Linked DNA regions of Homo sapiens: region 2 is linked to region 1. The links are contacts of gene promoters, found by promoter capture Hi-C in human tissues and cell types (Jung and others, 2019). All regions are on one chromosome and are shown on one strand. The core of a region is centred on a gene start or on the middle of the fragment in contact, and the rest is flanking DNA. Distances in the headings are between cores, read along the strand shown.

Evidence for each region. Contacts are between HindIII fragments. The study calls those that stand out against the background at their distance.
Region 2: a contact is called between a fragment that was not itself captured here and the fragment with the promoter of CNEP1R1 in region 1, in 1 of the 25 tissues and cell types used here (hippocampus).

What each region holds. Positions count from the first base shown.
Region 1 is chr16:50,023,897-50,026,613 of GRCh38, forward strand. CNEP1R1 (CTD nuclear envelope phosphatase 1 regulatory subunit 1) reads left to right here and starts at 1,329. Exons shown (of 6, transcript NM_001281789.2): 1 at 1,329-1,444; 2 at 2,500-2,571. The coding sequence starts at 1,420. RefSeq lists an enhancer at 1,018-1,519 and a silencer at 1,333-1,642. The HindIII fragment of the contact is 15,057 bases long and covers 1-2,717 here.
Region 2 is chr16:50,497,154-50,499,870 of GRCh38, forward strand. No RefSeq gene overlaps it. Among named protein-coding and RNA genes, the nearest start is that of NKD1, 50 kb to the right of the region's middle. The HindIII fragment of the contact is 5,593 bases long and covers 1-2,717 here.

The DNA of each region.
Region 1 (2,717 bases), core at 79-2,578:
GGATCAGTTAGTCAGTGACTGGTACTTGGTAAGCTGCAATTGTTTTAATATTGCTTGTTTAGCTGCTAGAGGAAAAAAACGAACATTGTGGCAGTTAGAACATCGTTTATTCTTTAAGTGTCTGGGTCTTGAGTGATTTAACCCTTGCCTGGCAGGGCCTTAGGTCTTGTTTATAAGTTGGTATGTTACTGCCACAAAAAAATCTAGCCCATCAGTCTTAGATTCTTTTTTTTTTCTTTTTCTTTTTTGACAGTCTCACGCTGTCACCCAGGCTGGAGTGCAGTGGCTCACTGCAACCTCCGTCTCCTGGGTTCAAGTGACTCTCGTGCCTCAGCCTCCCAAAGAGCTGGGATTACAGGCATGCACCACCACGTCTGGATAATTTTTTTGTATTTTCAGTAGAAACAGGGTTTTGTCATGTTGCCCAGGCTGGTCTCAACTCCTGACCTCAAGTGATCCACGCGCCTCAGCCTCCCAGAGTGTTGGGATTAACAGGCGTGAGCCACCGCGCCCGGCCAGGATCTCTATTTTAACACAACTATTCTTATTTGAAATCAATTACTTATTTGCATGTTTGTTGCCTGCTGTAGCCCTTCCTCTTTGCGGGCAGGAATCCTGTCTACCTGGCTCACACGCGTATCAATACAGTGTCTAGCATGTTAGGCAATAAAATGATTTTGAATGAAAGAATGCCACCAATAAATGAACAAGAAGGCCTTGTGATCAAATACAAATGTAGTCAATCCCTTACAGATCTCTTCTTAAGTTATAGGTATTTGGGCTTACACTTTGCCTCATTTAGGAATTATGAAAGCTGGGTGATGTGAGAGGAAAGTAACCAAGAGAGAAGTGTTTACTTAAGGGGTTGGTTATCTAGGATACCATAATTAAGGAAACTGGTTATTTAGGGTTCTAGTTAGTTCTGTACAGATTTCATTACTCCTTGAGATCCTTGAGGACAGAACCAGCTCTTTGATTTCTGTATCCCTCGCTAGCGACCAGAATAATGCCTGGAAGGTAGTGGGCGCTCAATCAACATTTGACGAATGAAAGAACCAAGCGGGGAACGGGGGATAAATGAATGAACGAACTGGCTCCGGAGGGCTGCAGTTCCTCCCCGGGGCAGCAGGCGACGCCAGCGTTACGCCCGCCTGGCCGCCGGCAGTTCTTGGTCCCTCCGGCTGACCGTCCAACGCTAGGCGCCGAGGCCGGTGCAAGAGACAGCCAATAGAAAGCTGTCTTAGTTGGAGGTCTAGTAGAGGAATCCAATGAGCGTAGCGGGTCTAGGCAAGGGGCGGTGCGACGGGGAGGGGCAGCGGGGAGCGGTTAGAGGTGGGAGTTGGCGCTGCGGGCCGGGCGGGGGCCGCGGAAGCTGCGATGCGGACAGGGCAGCGGCGGTGACCCGAGCTGCCGCCCGACATGAACTCGCTGGAGCAGGCGGAAGGTAGGGTGGGCCGCCCGGGCCCGTCCCCCGTCTCCCCTCGGAAGCTGGCGGTGCTCCGGAGGAGCCGGCGTCGTGAAGACCCCCGCCCCGGGAGGAGGCCGCAGAGGATGGAGCTAGGGGCCCGGAGCTTGGGGGCGCGTAGGCGGCCGTACCTGGCCAGACGCGGGGGGCGGTGCCTCAGCTCCCTGAGTCCCCACAAACCTAGAGGGTCGACCTCCTCGCCAGCTTCTATTTTTATTTTCTTTTCACTGGCAGACACTTGCACTTCGTGCATTGCAGCCTGCTAATTCATTTCATTTCATTCTCACAGCCCCGCGAGTTGTATCCCTGATTCCTGCGGTGGTTTCCGGTAACTGCCAAGGTTAGGAAGTGCTGCTCGGTGTTTTAAAGTTTAAAGCACACCACTGCGGAAAGGATACCCCACCACTCACTCGGAGCAGCTTAGACGCCCCTGTCTTCTAGAACTAGGCGCTGCCTGGGTGCCACGAAGATCACCTGTACCCCTTCGGAGGGGGCAAGGGGAATGTCTTTCCACACCCACTCGCTATCAGTGTCAAGAAGTCTAGTAAGGCCAGACGGCGTAGCCATTAATTAAATATAAGAGCTGGAAACCGGAGGCGGGTAATTGCAGTCAGGTAGACCTCGAAGACTTTGATGTTAGGCACTACGTGGTTCTAATAGGAAGTTCTTGGTTCCCAGAGAGCTAAAACTCGACCTGATTTTAATTTTATTTGCAACCCTGAAAATGTTCGCTTTTGGCGCTGGCCGAGGCTGCTGCTTATTTCTCCCAATACCATTTATGAAGCTTCTAAAAGTAAATCAGCAAGTTTTCTTATATGAGAAATTGGAATTAAAGAGCCCTAATTTTTTGTCAAGTGCTTAAAAAGCTGTCATAGTAAATGAAATAAACAGTGCAGTGATACATGGAAGTTAGTGTGTAAGACCTGAAGCAGTTAAGAGTATCTCACATGTCGTCTTAATGTTAGGTAAATACTCTGACATTTCGTCAGACGAGTAAGAGTGGCTAATTAGAAAATTGACATCTTTATACCTAGATCTCAAGGCTTTTGAGAGGAGACTTACTGAATATATTCATTGTTTGCAACCTGCTACTGGACGCTGGAGAAGTAAGTTCCTGAATGTTATTTTAAGGGAAAACTAACAATTGATACTTTTATCCTAATATAGGAATGATTTGCTTTTATGTAAAATGTTTGTTTAAATTTATTTAACATTGTAGACAATGCCTTATGAAGAAATTTTTAAGAAAAGG
Region 2 (2,717 bases), core at 57-2,556, 470 kb after region 1:
ACCCACTAAACCACCCATCCTGGTTGGGAAGGAGATCTTTGTATCAAGATATACCATAGGATCTTGGCTAGCCTGTGACATAACTTCTCTTAGGTCAGGTGACTGACTCTCAACCAATCACCTCTGGACAGATATAAGCCACCTGGGCTCCAGGGACAGATGGTCTCTTCTTTTTTCAGGAGGAGACTGTGAGCATGACAAGCCCCAGGACTGGCCTGTCCAGTAGAATGGATGCCTACTATTTGATGGGCCTTGACTGGGCGTGGGGGACAGGGAGGGCAGGATGACTTAGACATGGTTTCTGTTTAGGGAGCCCCCAGTCCAGCAGAGTCAACCGTCTTTTCTTCTCATAGCCCATGCAGGGGAACCCTAATTAGAGGCAAACACCCCTGACTGTTCCCACTCATCCCTGCAGTCTCAGGGGGGTGAACTGTGAATGCTCAAAGCCCATTATGGTGGTCAATGATTGGTTTGGGTCTGGACATGAGATTCGGCTTGGTCAATGGCTCCAAGGGGAAGTCTCCAAGCTAGGATCTGGGAAAGGAATTCCTCACCAATGAAACAGCACATGAGAGGAAATGCCTCATTTTGCTGAACTGTGTGGGATTGTCTGCAAAGACTGCAAGTGCAGTATGACTAGCGGCGGGGGGACCTGGTGGACATGGTGAGGACAGCATCTTTGATGATGTCACCTGAACCACAGAACAAACCCACCCCACAACAGCTCTGTCTCTGGGCTTGCAGTTATATGATGTGACTAACATTCCTATTTTGCAACAGCTATGAAGGAGGTCTCTGAAGCCTAATTGCCTGCTGTGTGACCTTGGGCAGATGCTTAACCTGTCTTGCCTTGGTTTCTTCATCTGGAAAGTGGACATAAAATAAGACCCAACTCATAAGGCTGCTAGGAGGTGTAAACATGTTTATATATGTGAAGGGCTTATAACAGTGCCTGGCACGCAGGAAATGGTGTACAAGTGTTGGCTGTTATTGAGTTCCCCTTTAAAAATAGATCTTAGGTAGACAGAACTGGATTAATCATGAGCCTTGATTCATGACATGCCACTGGGATATTTATTAAAATAACGAACACCCATGAACCCATCACTCAACTCAAGAACTAGAATATTGCCAATAGTGATTACTCCTCCATATGTGCTCCTCTCGAACTGGCCCCATGACCACCTCCCTGCATTTGCCCCTAAGATAAGCACGGTCCTGAATTCTGTGTTTCTCATTCCCTTGTATGGGTTTGTATAGTTTTATCACATGTAAATGTATATCCAGACAACGTATTGCTTTGTTTTGCCTGCTTTTGAGCCTCACAAAAAGGGTACACTCTACACAGTCTTCCGGGAGCTTTCCTTTCTGCAAAGACGCTTTTACTGGGTTTTCTGCTTCTCGCGGCTAAAGGCACTCCAATCACATAGCATCTTCTAGAAGGGAGGAAGAAAAGCCTACTTTCAACAGACAGAAACGCAAGTTAGATCTTTTCTTCTTTCCTGTTTCTTGCACTTCATTTGGCTATGGATCTGTTCTGGGTCTCCCAAGGGTCACTGCAGAAATGCCTTCCTTCTGAATTAGTGTGTGAGGGGGTTCATGTGCTCCTGGCTTGGCTGCCCTGCTGGCACGGGGTCCAGGTATGAGAGACCCTGCTCAGAGCCCCAAGCCACACGGAGAAGCCTCGGCCCCTGAGGAATTTTTCTGATGCTTTTGAATCTCCCCTGGGAATCATTTTCCCCTTTCCATCCCAAATATGGGCTGAGGCTCTGGAAGGCGTGGGAGAACTAATTTGACGTGAGTGTAAACACTTCCATGCCAGTGGAACCTTGGCCAGCAGGAATTCCAAGCCATCCAAGAATTCTGCCAACCTAGAGTTGGACTTTGGCTGGGACCCTCTGGTGTAGCTACTTTTAGCTGGGAACATTTTTTTCCCAGACTCTGGGAGGCCACACTTGAAGGATTACAATTTCCTCAACAAAGACCCCACGGTGACAAGGGGCATTTCTGCATTGAGTTAACCATTTACATGCCTGCCTCCCAAATTTCCCTGTTTTAGGGGGTGGCATCTACCTAATTGCTAAGACCCAGGGCTCAGGAGGCAAAGAAACCTGGCTCTACTTCTGGGTCTACCTCTTATTGAGAGGATAATAATACCTGCCTCTAGAGATGCGAGGATCAAATGAAATAATAATATATATAAAAATACTTGCATATGGTAGTGCTTGTACCAGTCAGTCCAAGCAAGGCTGTGCTGCAGTAGCAAGCATCCCTGCAAGCTCAGTGGCTAATCACTACAGAAGTTTATTTTTCACTCCCATGAAGCTTGCTGTAGGTCCAAGACCACCCTCCGGGGCAGACTTCTTCTAGATGTGATACATAATCCAGAAGATCAAATTGCAGCTCCATCACTTCAACTCAAAGCCTCCATGTTCACTGTGGCAGAGGAAGAAATTAACTAAATAATTGGCCAGAACATTTCTGCTCTCAGTTAACTAGCCAAGACTAGCCCATGGTTCCACCTCACAGCAAGGGTACTGGGATATATAGTTTTCTGTATGTCCAGGAAGGAAAACTGAGCCTGATGTTGCAGAGCATTGTAACGTCAACCACAGTGTTTAATCAACATTAGTTTCCTGCCTTTATTTTCCACCCCCAAAGAGTTTAGAACCTATTTGAGGTGACAAGCATGTATAGATGAAAAGATCAACATATTT